Linked DNA regions of Homo sapiens: region 2 is linked to region 1. Evidence: promoter capture Hi-C in human tissues and cell types (Jung and others, 2019). All regions are on one chromosome and are shown on one strand. Each heading gives the region's core, a stretch centred on a gene start or on the middle of the fragment in contact. The rest is flanking DNA. Distances are from core to core; before and after follow the strand shown.

Evidence for each region. The method cuts DNA at HindIII sites, captures the fragments that hold promoters and counts their contacts. A contact is called where the count stands out against the background at its distance.
Region 2: a contact is called between a fragment that was not itself captured here and the fragment with the promoter of PCNP in region 1, in 1 of the 25 tissues and cell types used here (bladder).

The regions. Positions count from the first base shown.
Region 1 is chr3:101,569,272-101,575,564 of GRCh38, reverse strand. It overlaps PCNP (PEST proteolytic signal containing nuclear protein), which reads right to left and starts at 1,385. Exons shown (of 5, transcript NM_020357.3): 1 at 1,286-1,385. The coding sequence starts at 1,349. RefSeq lists enhancers at 866-1,025, 1,046-1,205, 1,286-1,415, 1,516-1,785, 1,229-2,174. The HindIII fragment of the contact is 9,941 bases long and covers 1-4,155 here.
Region 2 is chr3:100,425,795-100,432,656 of GRCh38, reverse strand. It overlaps LNP1 (leukemia NUP98 fusion partner 1), which reads right to left. Exons shown (of 4, transcript NM_001085451.2): 2 at 2,772-2,960. The coding sequence starts at 2,927. Among named protein-coding and RNA genes, the nearest start is that of LNP1, 28 kb to the right of the region's middle. The HindIII fragment of the contact is 4,668 bases long and covers 2,609-6,862 here.

The DNA.
Region 1 (6,293 bases), core at 136-2,635:
AAAATTCCCTAGTGAGAAAGTAGTAGATGGTTTAAATTTAAATTGTTCTTTCATAAGGTATTTTACTAGTTATAAAAAAAAAAAAAGACAGGGGGTGGGGAGGGAAGAGAGAGATGGAGTTCCAGCTTAACTAACAGAATTGTACGTGTTTTTTAAAAAGGAAATCCTGGGTCCAAAGTAATTAACATTACACTTAATCTTTTCAATAATTTTTGTTCCCAAGGCAATTAACATGAAACATTATGTTAGTAGGTCTACTAGTGGCCTTCATATGCTATTAATCGTTTCTATTTTCTCATATTAAATAATTTCGGGAATGATAACTAAGGTGGTCAGAATAGAGAATAATGTTTAAAATGTTCTAAAAACATTTTAAACAGCTCGCACGTGTTAAGTCACTTGTCTTGTTATGTGCAAAGAGGGAGCTGGAGAGATTACGTTTCTTTTCCTTCACGCACAAGACCCGAATTTAGGGAGTGGAATGGACAGAATAAGGATAGCTGTAACCTGAGTTTAACGTCGTAACAAAATACAGGAAGAGTCACGCTAGACTATTTAGTCGCCTAAGTATCTGGCAAGCGGTCAGCTGGCAACAGCCTAAGGGAGATACTTCAAAGAAAAGCAACCAAACCTTAGCCCTAGACCCCGCAGCTTAAACCAGAGGGCAGGCAAAGGCATTCCTCTTCCCCTCCATCACCTCGGCCCATCCTGTCACAGGGTCAATATTAAACTTGGAAGTAAAGGAAAGAGAGCAGGCCGGAGTTGTCCACCTCCTCAGTGAAAAGGGAGCAGCAAGCGTAATTAACTCCTGCGTGTAACTGAGAGGCCGGCACCGTCAGAAACTCAGCCTGCGGCCAGTTCCCGCGGCAACTACTCGGTGGCTCGCACTGTGTGTATGTTATGTCTCATGAGCGTCTCCGGTGTGTGTGTTTTGTGTGATGTGCGTCTCCGGTGTGGCGGTAGCGGCTCCTGCACCGCCGCTCCTGGTCCCACCCCGAGTTCGGTCTCCCTTTCTGGCGCCCATCTCCCTTCTCCTCGGAATCAGGGCCTCCGCTGGGGCCAGGAGGTGACGAACAGTGGCCGGCTCTCCCCAGGCAAGGAGGCGATGTAGGCCCGGAGCCCAGAGGGCCGCATCGGGCGTGCCCGAGGCAGGTCTGGGCCCAACACCTGGCCGGGTGAGGTCCAGATCCGCCCATTCTCGCCCCACCCCACTCCCCCCACCCTGGGAGCTCAAAGAAAGGCCCGGAGCATCCCACGCTGCCCACGACGCTGGGGTTGTGTTCACCTCCGGCGGCTCCAGCTCGCTGCGACTTTTCAGGCTTCTCGTCTCCCGCCTTCCCGTCCGCCATTTTCCCCGCCGCGGCCTCCCCTGCAGCCACGCCAAGGACGTCACGACCCCGCCCAACAACCATCGAGTTTTTGGGGCCAGCCGGCGTGGTGGCAGCCTAGAGCGGTCCCGAGGAATGAAAAGAGGCCGCCTTCGGAAGCGGAAGTGGATGTGATGTCATCGAGTAGCCGCCTCGGAAGGAAGAGCTGGGAAGGTTGGGCGGTCTAAGAGTGCTGGCTAGGCACTTTATTAGAGGGCAGTCAGGTCTTCATGGTCTAGCGACAGGTCCGGAGAAGTGAGGGGAAATGGAGCATCTCCCTGGAAACGCTGGGATCTTAGAAGGTTTCTGCATACCCAGATGTGGTTGCAGCTGAGGCTGAGAGTGTCTTCCGTTCCGGCCTTGCTGGATAACGCATGCCTGCCAACTCTATGTAAACAAAAAGCCTGCATTCTTTTTCCCTAAAGGGGAAATCAGTGTTTATCTAGCGCCCCCTAGCTTCAGACGCCTTTCATACACTCGTTTAATCACGGCGATTGTCCAAATATAGAATTCTCCTCTCAATTACCTGTAAGAGTTGAGGTCAGAGAGAGTAATTTGTCTAAGTCACGTAGCCAACTGTAAAGTTACTTTTTGTATAGTCTGCTTCTACCAAGTTGAGAAACTACTATGTCAAGTTAAGACTGCAGTAATTTCTGCCTTAATAAGAAACCTTTAGTGGATTCCTACAGTCTGCATTCTGAAGTCCGTGAGTTACATTAGGCCCTAGCCTACCTTTTCGGCTTCATCTTCCCCCTTTCTCAGTATTTATCCAGCCCTCCTAGCCAAATGGGGTCTATTACTTGCTTAGGGAACTGGAGTTTCTGGGTTTGTCTTACCATATATAGTTAGAGAAAGTCTTAGGAGTCAGAACTTGGATTTGAATCTGTTTTGCCCTTTCCTGCTTGAGTAACCTTGAGACTTGCTTACTGCCTACAGAGCTACCTTTTCTTCTCTATAAAAGAGCAATAATAATAGTACCTCCTCAAAGAGTGGTAATAGGGATCAAATGAGATCATCTTTGTATACCATTATTTGGTCACTTCATACTTCCCTCAGTTTGTGTGTGTGTGTGTGTGTGTGTGTGTTTTAAGTGTTGTCTCTCTGAATGGCTCAAAAGTTCCTTGACAACAGAGACCAGTTTTTAAAAACTGTGTACTGTGCGTTTCATATATGAATATAAAAAGTGTTCAATATTTGCGGATGGATTACTTCTCGGGCTTCAAGTCCAGGGAGTGGAGAAAGAATGAAGAAATTATCAAAGTGTGTTTCCCATGACAGAAGCAGGGCAGTGTGGTGGTGATTTTGTGATCTAGGTTGAAGTCCCTGATCCATCATTTATCATATATGTAAAAGTAACCAGCAAACTATCTTACAGGTACTTAATTCATGTTTGTTTCATTTTCCTTGTGATCTTTTCAAGGTAATCATTGAGACTCTCGTTTCTATCATTTTAAAAATGGAGATATACACGAAGATTTTTATTTGAGATTATGTATTTACAGATGCTTGTAATTTTTTATGGGGGGTGGAATGGAGTCTCTCATTCTGTCACCCAGGCTGGAGTGCAATGGCATGGTCTTGGCTCACTGCAACCTCCGCCTCCTGGGTTCAAGCGATTCTCCTGCCTCAGCCTCTCGAGTAGCTGGGACAACAGGCGCGTGCCACCACACCCGGCTAATGTTTGTATTTTTAGTAGAGACGGGGTTTCACTATGTTGGCCAGGCTGGTCTCGAACTCCTGACTTTGTGATCCGCCCACCTTAGCCTCCCTAAGTGCTGGGATTACAGGCGTGAGCCACCGTGCCCGGCCGATGCTTGTAATTTTTAAGTGAAGAAGATAAAGCTCAGAGAAGTCACATACCTATTTAGGAGCGGATCCAGTTCCCATATACCACACTGCAGAAGTTAAGGATGCATGTGCAGGACTAGGTATGAAAGGAAAAAAACGAAACAAAAAAAGGATGAAGATAGTAATCCATTCACCTTTCAGTTCTGTGAGTTTCATGAGGTGTGCCTGTCTTGTTCACCACTGTTTCCCCAGCACCTGGATTATACTAGTCTGGATAAATATCTATTGAAGAAATTAATGCAAGCTTCAGTAACCTCCTACAAACGGGTTAGGAAATGGAAAGGTAGTGTAGTATGAAGGGGTGGAAAGGGGGTGATCACTTTCCTCCCCATCAAAAGAGTCATGACAACATGCTTGTTAATAAAAGACAGGTTAACAAGAGAAAATTAATGTGCATAAGCATGGGAATGATACAACAAAATAAGAAAACTAAAAAAAGGGTCAGATGGTTGAAGTTTAATACTTTTCATAGGGGAGAGAGAGGTGGGGGGGCTACAGGCAATTTTAGAGGAGTAGTAAATGATTTTAGGAGAGATTAATGCAGAAATTCACTTGTAAATTATTCTCTTTGTAAACCAAGTGAAACTAGAGAACCAATAATAATTCGAAGGCCAGTCGTGGTGACTCACTCCCATAATCCCAGCTACTAGGGAGGCTGAGATAGAAGGATCACTTGAGCCCCGGAGGCAAGGTTGCAGTGAGCCAAGATCTCGCCACTGCACTCCAACCTGGGTGACAGAGTGAGACCCTGTCTCAAAAACAAAAAACAGTAGTTTGAGGCAAAGTTTGGGCTCTAAGTGTGGTGGTTAATTTTCAGTCTCTTCCTCTATGATGTGAGTTTTGTTTTTTTATGAGACCAGGTCGCACTGTGTTGCCCAGGCTGGAGTGTGGTGGCTATTCACAGGCATGATGATAGCACACTACAGCCTCAAACTCCTGGCCTCAAGAATCCTCCCATCTGAGACTCACAGGTAGCTGGGACTACATGTGTGCACCACTGTATCTGGCTTTGTGATATGTTTTAATTTCTTCTGGTTAATGAAATTTCAGGGAGGAAGCAGATAGAAAGCAATTGTGTTCTTTGATGTGTGTGGTTTCTAGGTAGATAAGAAACTTCAAAGAACAGTCTTATCCCGTGTTTTGGGGGAGGCAGAGGATTGAGAGGCAGGAGGTGGGGTGGGGAGATCAGAGAAACCTTGCGGCTGCTTCTCTAGTTCAGCATGTCAAAGCACCAAATTTTGGGGTACCGTTTTCTGACAATGAATAGGCAATGTAGTCCAAGGCAAAGAGCATTAGTTTTGCACCACACAAAAACTCGACTTAAATTCTAATTCTGCATTTTGCTAATTCTGTGAGTTTGTACTGGATAACAATGTTATGGAATATGTTATAACTATACAAATGGAATAATACATATAGGGTTACTGAGGGCATTGGGATAATAAAGGTTAAATCTATAATATGCTGCCTGGCCATGGTGAGAGCTTGCTTCATAGTAGCTATGGATTATAACCTCTAGTGAGCTATTTAAGTGGTTTAAAAGGCTGGAAATGGAAGGTAATATGAGCAATTATTATTTTAATTTAGATGTGTAATTTGTGAGGCGACAACTATAATATCTAACATTTATTCAAGCTTACTATACACCAAGCATTGTTGCAGGTATTCTACATGAAATTCAGTACATTAAATCATTACAACCCTGTGAATTAAGTGCTACTGTTACTCCCATTTTTATGGAAGAGGGAATTTGGGCACGGAAAAGATAAGTAAGAAGTGGAGCTGAACTTGAAATTCAGGCCAAGAGCTACCAAAAAAAAAAAAAAAAAAATTAGAGTGGAGAAGAAAAGTGGCTAATCTTGATTTCACTAACCTTAAGTAGGTTCTTTTTTTTGTTTTGTTTTTGTTTTTGTTTTGAGACAGGATCTCGTTCTGTTGCCCAGGTTAGAGTACAGTGGCTCATAGCTCACTGCAGCCTTGAACTCCTGGGCTGAAGTGATCCTCCTGCCTTAGCCTCCCAAAATTCTCGGATTACAGGCATGAGCCATTAAGTAGGTTCTTAATGTAGCCTTATAATTCTATTACATGTCCTCAGACTATTCTCAATTTCAGTGTACATCAGAATCACCTGAAGGACATGTTAAAACAGATTGCTGGGCCCCATTGCCAGTTTCTGATTCAGTTGACTCAATGGCTGGAGCCCTAAAATTTGCATTTCTAACTAGTTCCCAAGTAATGCTGATGCTGCTCGTTGGGGAACCACACTTTGAGAACCACTGCCCTAATTCACTCACTTTCCTATACTATTTCATGTTTTGTTGGCTCTCCAAAAATGTCCATTACGTCCTCCCACTTGGGATGATTTTGCTTTTTATTTTCAGTGAGAAAATAATAGTAATCAAACAGAACTTCTATATATTCTCAACCATATCTGAGGTGTGGTACCTGCATTTATACCTATATACTATGTGTTCTGTTACTTATGAAGTGGAGCCTGTCCTTGTTTACACACATCACTATTGTTCCATCCGATTTTTCTTTCTACTATTGAAACATTCCCAACATCATACATACATGCTTTTATGTCTCCTATCTTAGTAAAAGACTCTTCTCTTGATCTCATATCTTCCTGTAGCTCCTCATTCCTATTTTCCTTCATATAGAAACTTTGAAAAGATTGTTCATACTCTGTCTCCTATATCTCTGTCCATTCTTTTTTTTATCTTTTGAGACAGGGTCTTGCTCTGTTACCCAACCTGGAATGCAATGACATGATCTTGGCTCACTGCAACCTCCACATCACACGCTCAAACGATCCTCCTGGCTTAGCCCGCCAAGTAGCTGGGACTAAAGGTGAACACCACCATCCCTGGCTAAGTTTTGTAGAGACAGGGTTTCACAATGTTGCCCAGGCTGGTCTCAAACTCCTGGACTCAAGGGATCCACCTGCCTTGGCCTCCCAAAGTACTGGGAGTACAGGTATGAGCCACCACACCTAGTCCCGTCCCTTCTTTTCGTTTTTGTTTTTTTTGAGACGGAGTCTTGCTCTGTCACTCAGGCTGGAGTATAGTGGCACAG
Region 2 (6,862 bases), core at 3,693-6,192, 1.1 Mb after region 1:
CATATTATGTTTTTTCACTAAGGACAGCAGAACAATAACATGGGATTTCTTTATTCACTTTAATTCAGCAAACATAGGTTCTAATGAGTCTGGGGAAAAAGTAGCATTCTATAAAAAGGCCTAAGCTTTACCCTTTGTTGTACCTAATTCTTTCTGCCAAATTTGTATTTTCTACTAGACTGACAGTCCCACAAGTGTGGGGACTGGGCATGTCTTCTTTCACCCTGTGATACTCGGACAATGTTTGGCTCACAGTAGGTGTTCAATAAATATGTTAAATTAATTAATGTTGATCACTGTGGTTTTGTGTGAATCATGAGACTGATGAAGATGTATTAGAAACTACATTCAAGGAGAAGTGGGGAAAAAAAGAAACCACATTCAAAGTAGGCAAGGGGGAAAGCTCTTCTCCTCCTATGCATATAATACTTAATGTAATATTGATGGTTATAGATTATTAAAAGGTTGAGAGAGGGAAGGGCCTTAGAGCAGTCAGGAGAGAAGAAAAAAAGTAAGGATAAGAGTAAGCTTTTCTCTTTAAGGTATTTCCATTAGCTCAAAGCAGACAAAAAATTGAAAACCAAATTGTTCCTTAAAATAAGAATATATATATATATATATATATATATATATATATATATATATATATATATATATATATATAAACAAGGTCTCATTCTGTTACCCAGGTTGGAAAGCAGTGGCATGTTCACCGTTCACTGCAGCCTCGACCTCTTGGGCTCAAGTGATCTTCCCACCTCAGCCTTCCAAGTAGCTGGGACTATGGAAGCACCACCACACCCTGCTATTTTTTTTTTTTTTTTTTTTGAGAGACGGAGTCTCACTATGTTGCCCAGGCTGGTCTCAAACTCCTTAGTTCAAGTGATCCTCCCGCCTTGGGCCCCCACAGTGCTGGGATTCCAGGTGTGAACCATGGCACCACGCCAAAAGTAAGAATATTTGATTACATTTTAGAGATAGAAAGTATTCAAGTATAGATTCACTTATACATATACAGCATTATGTAGACAAAGAATGAAGAATTAGACTCCCCAACTACTTTCCAGTACTCTGCCCATTGACCTCTGGTTCCTCTGATTTGTGATCTATGCTTATTGTTTCTCCATTCTATTCAGTCATATTTTTAACTTTTTTAATCCAGCAATTTTTATTCTGCATGTTAGTCTAATAATTACGGAATTCATTGCTGACTCAGAGAATCTAAACAGGTTAATTCAGGCAAATGCCCGAAGCAGGGATAAGCAGATAAAGATGTCATAAGGACACAGTTTACAAATGTTATACATAATAGATGCTGTGATTCCATAGATTAAGGCAAACACCATTGTAACCTAAAAGTGAATTCTGTAAATGGGGTAACTATCTCTGTTTTAAAAGCTCCATAGATGCTAAAGTTTATTCAAGGAACTAGTAAACCATGTTTCTTTCTATGTTTTCATATTTCCTGTGGCTTCAAGAGGCCATTGTCATAAATAGTAAATTACAGTTTTTGTTTTTGTTTATCCCTGTTCTCACATCTGGAAACTGGAAACTAATCATACTCCTGGTTCACACAGCCTGGATATTTTGCTCATTGTGGAATATATATTAAAATGAGAGGCAATAAGCAGGTGTTTATTTTATAACAGAACATGGAAGGTTAGAGGTAGAAGGGTTCTTAGAGATCACTCAGTCCAACACCCCCATCTTTTTCACTTTAGCAACCTGAAGCTGAAAGAAGGGTTGACGATTGCCCTTTGTCCCTGAGTATGCATTTGGCAAGGGATATATTTTGAAATATTTGTGTCTCAAAGAATTCTCTTTCCTCAAACTTGCTGATCACCAGGAGTAATAGAGGTTGCCTTACACACTTTCATATGTCTTATAGACATTATGTGTCTGGGAAGCCTGAAGTTAAAAATAAAATAATATTACCCCAAACAAAACTTACTTGGTTCCGGGGTTGGCAACAGCAGGGGATTGAGAAACTATCCTCTGGTAGCTGACATTTAATGGGACTTATAAAAAAGAAAAGCTGTATTATTGCTGTGTAACTGTGAAGCACAGGACACACATGTCTACTGTGGAGCCTTCTAGCATGCCAGTAGAGCAGAGAGAATAGCCGCCTGTACATGTCACTGAGTCTACAGCTGACCAAGCCCACCCATTCCCCTCTTGGGAGCTTTCCTGCTAGCATCTTGTTCCTCAGATATCAGGTGCTCTGCCTAGCTGTAACAAAACAGTGCTGAGGGCAGGAGAGTTTTAGCTCCCTCTCCCATCTAGAAACCAAATGGACTCCCTGGAAGAAAAACAAGTATGTCAAATTTCTCAAAGGTAGTGACTTGTCATGTGGGATCCCCAGTTCCTTAGAAGGTCTACCAAAGAGTGGAACAATTTTCAGTATTTCAAACGGAAATCACACATTGAGCCACAAGGCTACACAGACTAAGTATAGCATCAAGTTTCTTTCCTTTGGCTTAAATTCCGTCACTCAGTGGGATTATCTCAGGCTTATCAGGAGCTCTGAAGAGTAGTTAAAGATATCTCAGACAACTAAAAATGAAGAAATCATTACCCATTAGATGACAATAAGGTCCCTTGAAAGACAAGATGAAATAATAAGAGAGATTTCTGTGGGTATGAGAAAGACTCAGAAGTACTGGTTTTAAACCAAAGAAAACTTTATATCCAAAGATTCCTCAAAAAATTATCTAAGAGAAACCCCCTCCCCTATTCCAGCTCTCCCCTCCGGTTCCATGACAATCACTCACTGGGCAGGGCAGGGAGGTTTTCCTGTGACTGGTGGCTTGCAGTCGGTGGCGTTCCCGGAGTCCTCTCTGATCCTCCTCTCTCCAGCTGTGGCCCCAGAAGCTGCTCATCCATTTGGCAAAAGACACATCATCATCATCATCATCTTTGTGCTCCATGTAAAGGTGATGCCAAATACTGAAGGCCTGTCCCTAAATGCGACAGAGGGAAATATCACCCAACAGGGCTGACAATGAAACCCAGGATCTCTCCCAAAAGACAAAATGAAACTGGTCTTTTTAAAATGGTCTCCGATACTGGCATCCTTAAAGGAGAAAGATTTACTAAACAACCACTTCATCATCAGGCAGCCTTGGGCAATGTCTATTTATAAATTGTGCAGCCCACATTCCCCTCCCCTTGTCTTTTTAAATTGAGAGGCTTTCTAATCCTTCCATTGCTGGGGCTTGTGCCTCACAGCCTAAGGGTGGGATGCAGAGTCCACTGCCTGGTTTTCCCTGTGCTTTGCTGCCAATGACATGTGATGGCATCTCCAGCTGTCAATGATGATGGAGCATGACCCTCACAATATGCCTGTCAGCTCCAGGCAAGCTCTGAAATGGGGCCACATACAAGGAACAGACTGACCACAGCTTGCAAGGTAGCCAGCTGTTGCCATGTCATATCTGGAGCTAGATACTCTCCTAATAAAATGATATTGATATAAAATCCAGCTCCTAGATCAAAAGGAGTAGTTTTTTAAATTGAGGTATTACTTATATATGTACACATGTAAATAATATACAAGTACGTGTAAAATGTACAAATCATAAGTGCACAGCTTGATGAATTTTTATATACATATACCCCTGTGTTACCACCACCATGCAGGTAAAGACATAAAACATTGCCAGCACCCCAACTGGCTCCATGTATCCCCCTTCCAATCCATACTCCCTTCAAAAGTTTACCATTAATGATCTGTGTCACCATAGATTAATTTGCTTGTTTTTGAACTTACTTTCAATGGCATTATACAGTATGCATTATCCTGTGTTATTCAACATGATGTCAGTGAGATATATCCATGTTTTTGCAGTAACAATAGTTGACGCTGTGTGTAGTATTGCATTGCATCAACATGTCACAATTTTTTAAAAATTCAGTCTACTAGTGATGGTCATTTTAGGCTGTCATTTAGGTTACTTCTAGTTGGGGCTTTTATAAAGTTTATATAAATTTTATAGTCCCTGTCTTTTAGTGGGCATTTTTTTCAAAGTAAAGAGAATATTACATTTATGGAACTCCTACTTTGCATCAAGTATGGAGCCAAGTATTCCATATACGCTAATTTTCTTTTTTTCTTTTTTTTTTTTTGAGATGGAGTCTCGTCCTGTTGCCCAGGCTGGAGTACAATGGCATGATCTCAGCTCACTGCAACCCCCACTTCCCAGGTTCAAATGATTCTCCTGCCTCAGGCTCCCAAGTAGCTGGGATTACGGGCACCCACCACCAAGCCCAGCTAATTTTTGTATTTTAAGTAGAGATGGGGTTTCACCATGTTGGCCAGGCTTGTCTCAAACTCTTGACCTCGTGATCTGCCTGTCTCAGCCTCCCAAAGTGCTGGGATTACACGCGTGAGCCACCACGCCAGATCCCATATATGCTAATTTTCTTATAACAACCCTGTGACTGGGAGATTTGTATGACATTTTACTGATAAGGAAGTTGAGATGCAAATAGATCACCCCTTGCCAAAGTGAAATTAATACTAAGCGGCAAAATCAAGTTTGAAGCGGGGAATAGAAAAACAAAGTCCAGGCTCTTTCCACCATCCTGCCAGTATTTCAAGAGAACTTGGAGAAGTCTCGCATTTTCAATCAGGAATTCTTGGCCATTTGCCCTACGAAAATCCTTCCTTGAGCTGCAAAAAGATAAGCTTGATAACTATGACCAATGTTTACAGAGCATGGCATCACAACTTTTATGTTACTAAGGAAAAGTAGCCAAAGCTTAACATATCTTCTAACATTTTTATTTTTTGCAAATGGCCAAGACTTCCTGTGTTATCACAACTCATTGCTGGAGGAATTAAGCACATCCTGTGGGACTTCACTGGAACAAGACTTTTTGGAAGAGTGTGCCTAATTTCCTCCAGACTGTACCCCATATGCCTTTTCCATTTTCTTTCTCAGTTTTACCTTGTATCCTTTCAACATAATAAATCTTATCCATGAGTACAACTATATGCTGAGTTCTAGCAAATCCCCAAACTGGGGATGACAGCTACTATCAGAAGTGGGATTTGCTAAAAAAACAACCCAAACCACTGAACTATGGCTAAAGCAGGGTTTGGGAAAAGGAAGGATGAAGAAGACATGATGGTGAACCTTCAATGCCCAGTGGCTACCTAGCCATCTATAGTATGAATCAGCTGCTGAGATGATGTCTGTTGTGAGAGGTAAAAGTTACCTACAGAATTCAAAATGACAGATCCAACCCCAGGACAATTGGTTCATTAGATTCCTTGGCTGCTTTTGGCCACGGGTAGCTAAAATGAAGGGATTAAAAAGTGCAGCCTGGCTGATGCCTTTGGGTTTTGTTCTCTCCTCTAGATGAGAAGAGAAAGGGCCCAAACATTCCCAAAACACATTTTGCATGGGCCAAAAATGTTAAAAGTTTGCATTGCTTTCTCCTCCAAGTGGGAAGGAAGAGAAAGCAATGCAAACTTTTAACGTTTTTGTTAAGTCAGTTCCAAGAGCTAGAACAAGGCTTTAGATAAACCAGCAAGAAAGGGGAGGGGGGAAATAATACCCCATCGCCTCATACAGCAGCCCCTTGCATTCCAACTGGGAATCTCTCACCAGGTATAATGTGAATCATATACGCTGAATTTACCACTTTACTACTAGGAGTTTGAGTAAACCTGCAATGAAAAAAAGAGAGATTTTTTAAAATGGCTTCTATTCTGTGTCTATAGCACCTGAATATATGATAAAAACTGATGTAAAATATTATATGCTTATACTTTCATAAATGCTTGAGGGATTACCCCAGTTAGGGAAAGCTACTCTATAAGAAGTATTAGAAGAATATGCACCTCTTGATTTTTGTTGCTACTAGATGAATTACAATGTAAACTCTGAGTATTTAAGTACTGAAATCTCCATAACTGATTATTTTTGCTATAATTTTTGCCTGTTGGAGCCTATGGGAAAAGGTAGACAACATAGAAGCATAGCTCATCTCCACTGGAAAAAACACCTTTTGAATTTTAAAAAGCAGTTTTTAGTTTGCTAATAAGTTCTTATATAATCAGGTGTCTGTCTGACCCTTAGAGGCTAATGATTTTCCAGCCTAACGTGCATATTTTGGAGTGGGTCAATTGGACTCTAAATCTGACCGTGTAAACAGGGCTTAGAAAACATTTCTTGTCAATTGGACTTGGAACAAAGCCGTTTGGCCCTGTATCTTCTTGGCTTTGCTGCTGCTATAGAGGAAAAGTTGCTAGCTAGTTTGGAATCCTGAATTCATAGATCCTAATTGCCTGGAGCTTATGCTAAGCTTGATACTGTCTGTGAGGGATTGTTCCAATCTCTGAAGACAGGCGTAGGCTCAAGGAACATAATTCAGCCTCGGGGACTATTGCAGGTTTGTTTACAACACTCCTCTGTGGGGCCATAAACTCTGCTATCCGAATCACATGGATCACTTGCAGATGCCTACGGGAAAGGGCTTGCTCTTTGATAGGACCATTTGAAACCGAACTAGTTGCACCAGAAATGATGAATCCCAAGAACCCTGTCAAAAGCTGCAAGCTAGGGGAGAGCACATCACAGAGAGTGGGACCCCTCCATCCACTCCTGACAGATAGGGCTCTTGACCCCTTATGGGATAGCTCACTGCTATTAATTTGTGTTCAGCTTGCCAGAGTATTTTGAAATTTGCAATGATGGATTGATAGTCTGACTCTTCTTTGCTCACCTCTCTTCTTAGTTAGGCAGTTTGATTGATAAATGCAGCTGTTCCTAGACAGAAATTGATATTTTCTAGGCTGCTTCCTGAATAAATAATCAGGACAAAAGGGATAGGGTAATGTAAACACAGTCTGAAA